Linked DNA regions of Homo sapiens: regions 1 and 3 are each linked to region 2. The links are contacts of gene promoters, found by promoter capture Hi-C in blood cells and fetal thymus (Javierre and others, 2016). All regions are on one chromosome and are shown on one strand. Each heading gives the region's core, a stretch centred on a gene start or on the middle of the fragment in contact. The rest is flanking DNA. Distances are from core to core; before and after follow the strand shown.

What was found. Contacts are between HindIII fragments. The CHiCAGO score rates a contact against its expected background, and 5 or more counts as called.
Region 1: a fragment that was not itself captured here is called in contact with the fragment with the promoter of LRRC70 in region 2 in 1 of 17 cell types (fetal thymus); the score reaches 5.8 in fetal thymus.
Region 3: a fragment that was not itself captured here is called in contact with the fragment with the promoter of LRRC70 in region 2 in 2 of 17 cell types (naive CD8 T cells and naive CD4 T cells); the score reaches 5.0 in naive CD8 T cells.

What each region holds. Positions count from the first base shown.
Region 1 is chr5:62,310,569-62,314,671 of GRCh38, reverse strand. All of the region lies in intron 1 of KIF2A (kinesin family member 2A), which reads right to left. Among named protein-coding and RNA genes, the nearest start is that of KIF2A, 6.4 kb to the right of the region's middle. RefSeq lists an enhancer at 1-310. The HindIII fragment of the contact is 5,853 bases long and covers 1-4,103 here.
Region 2 is chr5:62,576,677-62,580,255 of GRCh38, reverse strand. It overlaps LRRC70 (leucine rich repeat containing 70), which reads right to left and starts at 1,437. Exons shown (of 2, transcript NM_181506.5): 1 at 1,321-1,437; 2 at 1-855. The coding sequence starts at 817. All of the region lies in intron 27 of IPO11 (importin 11), which reads right to left. It overlaps IPO11-LRRC70 (IPO11-LRRC70 readthrough), which reads right to left and starts at 1,521. Exons shown (of 4, transcript NR_073584.1): 1 at 1,321-1,521. The HindIII fragment of the contact is 1,459 bases long and covers 879-2,337 here.
Region 3 is chr5:62,209,482-62,213,502 of GRCh38, reverse strand. No RefSeq gene overlaps it. Among named protein-coding and RNA genes, the nearest start is that of KIF2A, 95 kb to the left of the region's middle. The HindIII fragment of the contact is 3,122 bases long and covers 981-4,021 here.

The sequences.
Region 1 (4,103 bases), core at 975-3,474, 270 kb after region 2:
GTGGTCAAAATTAATGCCAAAACCTACAAAAACCTGGAGAAAAAGTCTTCAAAAGTAAATAAAACATAGCCCAGGGAGGAACCTGATTCTTACAGTTCCCGGGCCATAATGTGTAAGGAGTTTATATCCAAATTACACATAACCACCAGTAGCTGCATCCACTGCTGTTTCCCATGCTCTGCTTCCTTGGTCTCTGTTTGTTTGTTTTGAGACAGTGACTTGTTCTGTCACCCAGGCTGGAGTGCAGTGGCATGATCATAGCTCACTGCAGCCTCCAACTCCTGGGCTCAACCAGTCCTCCCACTTCATCCTCCTGAGTAGCTGGGGCTACAGTCACATGCTACCAGGCCTGGCTAATTTTATTTTTTGTAGAAATAGAGCCTCATCATGTTGCCCAGGCTGGTATCCAACTCCTGGCTTCAAGCAATCCTCCTGCCTAGGCCTCCCAAAGTGCTGGGATTACAGGCATGAGACACCACACCGAGCCAGTCTCTATTTACAAGTACCCAAACCCAGGATATCTAGAGAGAAACCTGCTGTCAGGTGCTGGTCTGCCAAAAACTTTAAATTGAATAAATTTGACCAGGTATGGTGGCTCACACCTGTAATCCCAGTACTTTGGGAGGCCAAAGAGGGAGAATTGCTTGAGGCCAGGAGTTCAAGACCAGCCTAGTCAACATAGCAAGACCCCATCTCTACAAACAATACAAAAATTAGCTAGGCATGGTTGTGCATACCTGTAGTCCTAGCTACTTGGGAAGTTAAGGTGAGAGGATTGCTTGAGTCCAGGACTTGGAGGCTGCAGTGAGCTATGATCATGCCACTGCACTCCAGCCTGGGTGACAGAGCAAAACCCTAAAAAAAAATTCCTTTTGATACCAAAACAATTTAAAAGTTATAAACTTATAACTCAAATAGGTACTAGAGTATAGGAAATAGGCTAATAATGACAATGCCAATTTCAATTGGCAGACTAGGGCTATTAGGGCTGATAATGCTGTATTAAGAACTCTGAGGCTGGCCGGGCGCAGTGGCTCAAGCCTGTAATCCCAGCATTTTGGGAGGCTGAGGTGGGTGGACCACGAGCTCAGGAGTTCAAGACCAGCCTGGCCAACATGGTGAAACCCCATCTCTACTAAAAATACAAAAAAATTAGCCGGGCATGTTGGCGCATGCCTATAATCCCAGCTACTTAGGAGGCTGAGGCAGGAGAATCGCTTGAACCCAAGAGGCAGAGGTTGCAGTGAGCCGAGATCACGCCACTGCACTCCAGCCTGAGCAACAAGAGCGAGACTCCCTCTCAAAAAAAACTCTGAGGCTAAATTCATCAGGAATGCTATGAGGGATCACGGATATTGGTCATAGAGGAGGAGAGATGGCATATATGACATGTATTTTCCATCCAAAAGGTCCATAACTTCAAGAGTCTAACAAAAAAGCCTAATCTTCAAAAGGAAGGTAGTAATAATGTACACACAAAATGGCATATTTCTATCAGTACTAATCACACTATAGATGAATCACTTATTTACTTGTTTGTGAGGGCAGGAACTATTTTTGCTTTATTCATTTTTTGTATCTCCAACACCTATCAGAATGCCTGATATATAGCAGGCTGTTAATAGAAGTATATTCAATGAAATCTGCAATAAAAAAAAAAGAAACATAAGACCACATTATTTTGATATGTCATAATCACTTAAGGTCTATACTCCAAAATATCACACACCCTAGTGAATGACCATCTGAACTTCGTGTTTTATTGTAGTGGGTAATGATATCATAGTGCACTATAACCTCAAACTCATAGGCTCAAGCAATTCTCCTGCTTTGGCCTCCAAAGTGCTGGAATTACAGGCATGAACTACCATGCTCAGCCTAGAAGCATGACTTTTAAAAGGAACACTTCCCTCACTCATATTACTCTTGGGAGATAGTTTAATATGGTGAAATTCTAATGTCTCTTTTCACTTAGCACTATAAAACCACTAATATTGCTTTATCTAAAAGAGCTGGAAGACAACTTAACCTGTATTTGTTCTACAACTGAACCAGAAGAATAAAAATTAGTTTTATCCAAGGTTTAAAACTTGTATCTATTCTTAAGAATCGTAATCTCAAAACAAACAAACAAATAAACAAACACCTTAAAATTATTTTAGGTTACAAAACAGATGTGTTAAAATTAAAGCAGATGGCTGAATCCAAGAATTAAACTTTGCAAAAGATTAATGTCATATTAATCACAACTATACTTCTGACTAGAAAGAACGGGGTCTAGATGATCTCTCAGGGAATCTTGTTCTGGATTTTCCACACTCTTGCCCCTTGTCTTATTTGAGCAGACACAGATTTAACTGGCTCTTTGCTGTTTTCTCTAGCATTTTAACAATCATGACACATAAAACAAGTTGACACATAGCCTTTCCCCAGAGTTTCAAAATCTTTGTCATAAGAATCAAGTGGCTAGGCAATGAATACAGATTCCTGGCTTTCTGTGGTACTTTTGGAAGCAATAAGTGCCTATTTTAAGTTTTTTGAGCTTCTTTGGTAGTAGTGGAAAGAATTTTACTACAGGGGTTTGTATGTCTCAGAAAGAAATACTAAAGTATACAACTTCACACCATAATCAGCAAACATCTGTCAGCAGCACTTAGAGAGCTGGGAGTGAAGGGATTCGGGCTTTGGCCCAGGCTATGCTCCTTATTAACCATGTGATCTTGGCAAATAATCCAACCTCAGATTCTTCACCTATAAACCAATAATCTGCCACCTTTCTATCCTGCTTACCTCATAGAGTTCCTGTGAAGATCCAATTAGCTAACATGTCTTGAAGCACTTGGAAAACTATTAAGCCCTAACAAATCCATATACAGAAACATTATCGTCCTAGTCCTCAGGGAAAAGGGAACTATTAGGTCACAAATGCCCCTATTCCATCCCACCCCCATAATCAATCACATAATTGTACCTAAAGAACAACTGTATTGCCACATGGTTCATCTTTATTACTTAAATTTACACATGCTATTCTCCAGAAGCCTATATAGTGACGTGTAAAGATGAACTAGCAGAAGAAAAATGTGGCAAAGCATATAAAGAATTAGGCCATTTAAAATCTTTTCTAAAGATTTTCTTTGCCTGCCCTGAACTCCAAAATTCCTGATGGGTCCTTTGAAATCTTCAATTGCCTCTTGATTTCAGATGTTAAAAGGAACTCTTTACACCAATACTTAACTAAGAAACAAGAATACTTTCCTCCCACAATTTTAGGTTTGGTGAACTTGTAGTAACATAGCACTTCTTACCAGGGATCATTCTAATCAAGCTCTGTAACACTGCTCGCTGGTGCCTTTCTCCGAAGTAAGAAGCAATTTCCTACATCTTGACTGGGCTGTAAAAAGCGGTATACGGTTCCAAAATAACAGAGAATTCCTCCTTTACTGTCATAGTTCTTGATAGTCTGATTTCTATGCTAAGCATGTCAGGTTCCTGGCTGCCATTGACAAGTTGTATGAATCTAGATAAGTCACTTATGGTGATCTGGGACTCAAGTTTCCACATTTATAAAAATGAAAACTAGTTTATCTCCAAAAACCTTTCTGGTGGAAATATTCTAAGATTCTCTTCAGATTACATGTATCAATACAGTCACAGTACTGTGACTAAGAGACCCGCCCCCAAAGAACAATCCCATATTAGCTGCAGCTTCCAAATGTTCAACATTTCCCATTTCTTCCCCAGTCCCCAAAGGGTAGTCACAGCTACTACAGAACTGTTAACAGCACAGCTAAAAGAAAAAAAAAACCAAACTAGCTACACGACAGAAAGATTGTAGGTTTTTTTAAGAGTCAGTGGGTTTTAAAAAGGGAAAGGAATTGAATCAGAAAAATAGGAAGACACATGTAAGAAAACACACCAGTCCAATTTCATACCAGGTTATCTCCTGTGGCAGAGAATAATCTTAGCAGTCCAAGCCTAACCCCTGTCACTGATAACCTTAGAAAACCAGAAAAGTCAGATTAACCTTAGCAGATCACTCAATTTCAATTAACGCTGTAGTTCCTGACTAACAGGCCAGCGGGAAGTAGAGGGCCAGAGTA
Region 2 (3,579 bases), core at 188-2,687:
TAAACCCATCCCTAGTAACATTCCTAATTCTTGAATTTTTCAGGAGGAGGTATTCCAGATTGGCAAGTCCTTTAAATGCAAAGGGCTGTATTGCTTCAATAGGATTATGAGACAAAGAAAGTCTTCTAAGACTTTTAAGTACTTCAAAGGCATTTGATGGTACTTTTGTTAAATTATTACTTCCTAAATACAAACAAGCAAGGTTTTCAAGATGTTGAAAGCCTGATTCTGATATCCTCAAAATGTTATTGTTTGATAAATCAAGTATCCGAAGAGCAACCATACCAACAAAGGTACCACTCCCAAGGACAGTGAGGCGATTCCTTTGTAGATTTAAGTACTGAACTGAAACTAGATCATTAAATACTCCTCTCGGAACAAAAGATACCTGATTATACTGTAAATATAAATTACGAAGATTTAAAAGTCCCTTAAATATTCCAGGATCTAAGCGTTTGATGAAATTATTATTTAGAAATAGAAAATATAGATGCCTCAATTGAACAAAGGCTTTTGGATATACATACAGAATGTTAGAATTATCCAAATACAATGCTACAAGAGAATGAAGTCCTGTTAATTCACTTTCATTTATATAAGATATATTATTCCCAGTCAGATACAGAAAAACTGTACTTTCAGGAAAATTCTTAGGAATACTCGAAAGGCCTAAGTTACGGCAGTTAATTTGTCTCCCAGTGCAGAGCTGACAAACAGACGAACATCCAAGTATTTCTTTGTGGAGTAATAATAAAAGATAACAGGTAACAACCAGAAACAGTCGTAGGCAAGGCAGAGAAAACTGTAATCCACACATATCCCTGTTCTTGGATTTTCTGTTCAGATCAGAATTGGCTATAAAAAGAGAAGGTAAAGCTTTAAATCACGAAAACTTCATCAAATGAATTTTTTTTATAATACTATAACTTCTGTATTCTATTTTAATTAGGATCAGCCAATAATACTATCATAAATCATACCATGGTAATAGCAAAAAATAATGAGTATGGAATACGTTCTAGAATTATTAACATGATCAGGCCATTAACCCACTATTTGACAAAATAGTTCAGATTAATGAAACATTTGCTAAGTTAACTTAAAAATTACAATTGATTACAACACAGGTGACAAATGATGTAGGAATGAGAATCTTTGAATTTAATATGTCCCTTTAACAACATAAAGTCTAATATCAAATAACATTATAATTTATGAAAATACAAATTCACTACAGAACAATTAAATTCTAAATTACAGTTTTTCACAGAACTATTTTTCATGTCAGCTAGAAGTTCATATTTAAGTAAATAATCTTACCAAGAAAAGGAAATTCGTATTATTAACACTCAGCTGATTCAGTAAAGGTTTTCTTTTTAAATCTGAAGAACGACATTTCTTAACTCCAGTTTGTTCTGTGGCACTGCTGACCTCCACCCCACCACTTTTTTTTTTTTTTTTTTAAGTCACCGTTTGCTCAGGAAACACCACTCTTCACATTGGTTCCTTTACAGTCAATGTGTAAAACAGAGGTTGCCATGGATACAGGAAGCTAAGAGACAGGAAGTAATTTTATCTGTGTTTCAAAAGTATTGCTGAACGGAAATCTCAGGAACTTATTTTTTCAGAATGCAGTTAGAGTTTTCCTAATATACACATTGAAATATCTCCTATAATATAAAAATAATAGTTTTTAAAGGATACTTGAAAACATTAGTTATTCAGAACCCAAATATCAATCAACAGACTCTAGCTATCAAACAACATAGCTACTGAATGGAAAAGGCTAGTTCAAATAAGATGTATATCGAGTAATACAATTTTTTGTAAACTTTTTAATGAATAAAATATTTATGTTGTGTTAAATACGCATTGAAGACTTAAACTTTATGCTTTATTCCTTTAATAAAAATAGGGGAAAAAATTTAGAATGAACATAAATGTTGTTATATTATCCTCCAGTGCTCTTTTTAAAATTTTCAAAATATTTTTGGTTGCAAAAAATACTGAGTACTACTTAATACGTGAGGTACTAATTGGTAGTAAGCTACTAATTAGTAGTAACGCACTAATTGGTTGTGTTGGGTTATAAGATGTTAAGAAGCTGCATACCAACTTACTGACATAGGTTATCTTTGCAAGAAAAATTGGGGAGAGTAAAAGAGGCGATGTTTCGCCCTATATATATCTGTATCAGTTTGAATCTTTTAGAACAAAAATGGAGAATTTTTTAACGTCATTTTTCAAGAATTTAAAGAATCGGATATAAATTGTTTATATTATATATTGTTCAGTCATTAACTTTCTTTCATTAACTTTAAGCTAGTTGCTTAAGCTTTCTAATTCTGACTTTTATTAATATTACTAATAGCCTGATAATATTCCTAAAATATCAAGTTATATAATTGTATACAACTCTCCTTTGATATTAAAGCAGTTTCATTTCACATCAACAATTACTTTAGAAATAATATGAATTATGTCCATATTAGAAAGCTGAAATAATACCTAGCATTATCTTTCTATGACTAAAAATTCAGCAATGCATACTGGATAGCAGATCGTTATCAAAATGACTTATGATTCTTACACCTATCCATTATGGCTGGTTACTGTTATTGCTATTTTATGCATTAAAAATGGAAAACAAAACAAGTGACAGAAATGATATGAATTTGAGGTAGGGGCTATGTTTCTCAGGTCCATTTTGTTTAGTACTTCCAATAATATACAAGGTGATATGAAGCTTGTCCCATGGATTTTTCAATTTCTTGGGAAAAATTCAGAGAAAGGGTCCTTTGAAATAAAAATAAAATTAAAGAGAAAAAACCCACAAAGTAATATAACCAGAGTATGAATTAATTTTGTTCTTTATGCCAAAAATATCCAAAGCAGTAAAGAACACTTATTAGGATGCAAAGGTAAAATTTTTAGGAAACTGTATTAAGGAAAAATGACAAAATAAAATCTCACTTCTCACATTCTAAAAACTGAAGGAAACTAAACTGACTTCAACAAAACAAGCAAATATAAATAGTACACTGTAACTCTCAGGTTGAATGGTTTAAAAAAAAATTCCTATCTCCAGCAAAACAAAGTTTAGTCTTTCTGTTCATTTAGGAGTTGCTGTTCTTAGAGACAACTGATCAACAATGATTCCTCATTATCCTTTTCTGATTACTAATGTTCATTACAACTATTACTGAACACTACGCTCAACCTCTTAAATTAGTCTTCTATTTCTTTCCAGGAAATTGACTCATTGAGCTGTTTTCCTCTCATTCTTGTTGCTGAACCTTCTTTTACACTGCCTTTGTCTTCAAATCATCTCATGCTTCTGGTATTAATACACAACTATTCTCTTTTCCATTCAGATTCTCCCCATACAAAAACAAGAATGTATAAATAACAGAGCAATTGTTCCATTAGCTCTTTTAAATATACATCATCTGTATGGATGCATGTATTCTTTTGAGACACAGTCTTGCTCTGTCGGCTGGGTTGGAGTGCAACAATGTGAGTACAGCTCACCACAGCATCGACCTCCCAGTCTCAAGTGATCCTCTTCCCTCAGCCTCT
Region 3 (4,021 bases), core at 1,292-3,791, 370 kb after region 2:
GCTTTAAGCAAATGTGTCAGGAACATAGAATTAGGTTCAGATTCTTGGGTTTTTAGTTGAGGATCTCACATTTTATTTTACTTTATTTTATTTTATTTTATTTTAAGATGGAGTCTTGCTCTGTTGCCCAGGCTGGAGTGCAGTGGTGCCAACTCAGTTCACCACAACCTCCACCTCCCAGGTTCAGGCAGTTCTCCCTCCTCAGCTTCCCAAGTAGTTGGGATTACAGGCACGTGCCACCACGCCTGGCTAATTTTTGTGTCTTTAGTAGAGACGAGGTTTCATTATGTTGGCCAGGCTGGTCTCGAACTCCTGACCTCAGGCAATCCACCCGCCTCGGCCTCCCAGAGTGCTGGGATTATAGGCGTGAGCCACCATGCCTGGCCAAGGATCTCAAATTTTAAATGAGATGGTGATTCAAAAACTTTTTTTTCATTAAATTATTAAACTACTGAGGAAATAACTATTTGTAAGAGCAAAAATATACAGTAATGCCTCATTTTTGTTTACTGTACTACATTTTCTGAGCACTTTCACACAGAGCAGTCCATGTAGCCTCTTTTGTCCTGTAGCCACTCAGTATTTCTGTATTGGTTGTAAATGAAGCATGTTCACTTATCTGAAATCAGCATCAGCATTCTGCAGCCCACATGCCAATGGTGACTGGAAAGATAACTGAGTGGCAAATGGAGGGGAGGAGGGGTTTCTACTCCAAGCCCTTGGCAGGTGATTGCAAAACAGATGGCTTATCCCAGTTTCCCTCCAACCTCCAGCATCCCGCTCTCATGGGTCTCCCCGGAACCCGGGCTGTCCTGTCATCCTAGGACATGCCTACCACTCCTAAGCTCTTGCAACAAAATGATTCCCCTTCTTCTCTAATCAAAACTTTCTTTTCTTTATTCTGAAAATAACTAATAATGCATTTTTCTTCTCTTTTTTGGGAAAAAGTTTAGTTTATTTACAGTTGATGAAGGAAAGCTTCTTTTTACAGAAGAATGCCAGCTAAAAAATATAAAAGAAAAGATTGAATTAAAAAATGTGTCCATTTTGCACTTCCTAATGACAAATTAAATGCTAAAACCATTAACCGAAAGATGGTTGGGGGACAGTATATTCTCAAAGCATCAAAATAACACCCCACAGATTGCTTGCTAATTGCAAAAGGAAGACCACGCCATTACAGTGGAGGTATCTGGCCATCACTACTTTAACTGAGATCAAGTTCCTTGCCTTAATAATGGGAAGCCAACACTCCCTCTGTCCCTGATGTGTTACAATGTGAGGTGCACAGTGTAACTCATGAAGTATTCTTCTTAAACACATTTCACCTGGCTGTAGTCAAACCTTTGATTTAACTTCCAGTTTACAAGAAATTCAGGGGACAGAAAATTAACACCAGGAACAAACAGACAAATCTAGAATGAAACTCAATCAGTCAATTAATTTCTTCTAAAGATCAATGTCATTAAAACAGAAACGTTGGGAGGGACTGCTCTGAATCAAATGAGACTAAAAGGACTTGATTGGATCTTGGTTAAAAAACCTCATAAAACTATACAAGATGTGTTTGGCACAATTGGAGAAATTTGAATCTGGACTGAGAATAGCCATCGTCAGGGAATTATTAATTTTATTATGTGTGTGTGTCAACTATCAATTGCCTCAGCTCCAATTCACACTTCAGTACTGCTCTACAATAATGGACTGGACTCTCCAAGTATTTCTTCTTTATTAGCATGATGTTAACTTTGTCAATAGAGGGCACAGGAGGGATACTGTGGGAGGAAGGGGGCTTTGTTTCCTCCTTTTGGAGTGCTATGTTTTGCTTTTTTTGCTCCAGCTGTCCAATTGGTCAGTGGTGCATGTGTGTCTGGGTACATCTGGTGGTACACTGCCGCAGCTGCATGCCAGATCCTGACCTTCCAGCCTCAGTCCAGACCAGGTGAACTCCTTTGATGTGACTCCCAACAACACTGTGTGCTCCAACCTTGTGTGTGTGGAGCCGTTCTGACTTTGTCTGCAAACCTGCCCTCCAGCCTTGGCTCTGGGTGTGTGTGTGTTTGTATGGGAGAGGGAGGTGGGTTATTTTCTGCTTTCCTGGCGACTGCGGACTAGATCTGGCCCAGAAAACCCAGCAGACTTCTCCACTATCTATTGGCTGCAACCATGCCTTCTCCAATGAGGTCTGAACCCAGGCGTGTTTGCATCCCTCTTCCAAGCTGGTCCTTCCCTGGGTACTCTCACTCAGCTCTAGTGGATTCAGTAGAGTTATCTTGACATCTTTTTTTTTTTAAGTTGAGATGGAGTTTCGCTCTATCACCCAGGCTGGAGTGCAATGGCACGATCTCAGCTCACTGCAACCTCCACCCCCAGGGTTCAAGCGATTCTCCTGCCTCAGCCTCCTGAGTAGCTAGGACTACAGGCCCCCACCACCATGCCCAGCTAATTTTTGTATTTTTTTTTTTTTTTAGCAGAGACGGGTTTTCACCATGTTGGTCAGGTTGGTCTCGAACTCCTGACCTTATGATCTGCCCGCCTCGGGCTCCCAAAGTGCTGGGATTACAGGCGTGAGCCACCGTGCCTGGCCCGACATCTTTATAATTACTTTTCAATTATATCTCTATCTATCTATCTATCTATCTATCTAATCTATCTATATATGTTTAAATGACAAGGTATCATTCTGTTGGCCAGGAGGCTGGAGTGCAGTGGCACGATTGTAGCTCACTTCGGCCTCATGATCCTCCTGCCTCAACCTCCCAAGGTGCTGGGATTACAGCCTTGAATCATCATGCCTGGCCCCTTAATAATTCTTTTGTTTGTTTTGAGGCAGGCTCTTCAGCCCAGGATGGAGAATGCAGTGGGTGATCATGGCTCATTGCAGCCTCAACCTCCCAGGCTCAAGCAATCCTCCTGTCCCAGCCTCCCGAATAGCTGGGACTACAGGCATGTGCCACCATGCCCAGCTAATTAAAAAAAATGTTTTGTAGAGATGGGGCTTCACAGTGTTCCCTAGGCTGGTCTCAAACTCCTGGGCTCAAGTAATTCTCCTCCCTTGGCCTCCTAAAGTGCTAGGACTACAGATGTGAGCCACCATGCCTAGCCTAATAATTATTTTAAACTTCCTCTTTCAAATAACTGTGTGTTTTCTGTCTCCTGATTGAACTCAGACAGATATACTATGATGCTGATATTGTGGTTATCAAGGAGAAGGTTCTAGTTTTCAGAATACTCACTGAAAATATTCAGTGATAAAGGATCATGCTGTCTGCAACTTATTTCAAATGGCTCAGCAATATGTGTGTGCACATATTGATTTATCCATATGCATGCATGCATGAGCATGTGTATGTATGTATATGAATAAGGTAAATAAGTGACACACAAAATATTAGCAATTACTGAATCTAGCGGAAGGGCATATGTGTGTTTATAATACCCATTCTTCCAACATTTTTGTATAAATAAAAATTTTCATGACCAGGTGTGGTGGCTCATGTCTGTAATCCCAGCACTTTGGGGACCAAGGCAGGAGGACCACTTGAGGCCAGGAGTTTGAAACTAGCTTGGGCAACATGGTGACACCTCGTCTCTCTCCTGCCATGCACACACACAAAATTAGCGGGGTATGGTGGCGTTTGCTTATAGTCCCAGCTTCTTGGGAGGCTGAGGCGGGAGGATTGCTCAAGCCCAGGAGATCAAGGCTGCAGTGGCTATGATCACACCACTGCACTCCAGCCTGGGTGACAGAGTGAGACCCTGTCTCAAAAATTTTTTTTTTCATAATTAAAAATTGAGGAGGAAATTCTTGCCTTCCTTCAGTATCTTTGCTTATGTGAAGGGGGAGAGATTCGGATTGTCTTACTGAAATAATGTGTTCCTAGTAGGAGTGATTGGAAGACTAAGCCCAACTTCTTAACCCTGGCTATGTACTCAGAAGAGTCTGGGCAACTTTTAACATGACACACACAAAGTTTTTGAATCACACTGTCTAGGATCTGGTTATTTCACACGCATACTC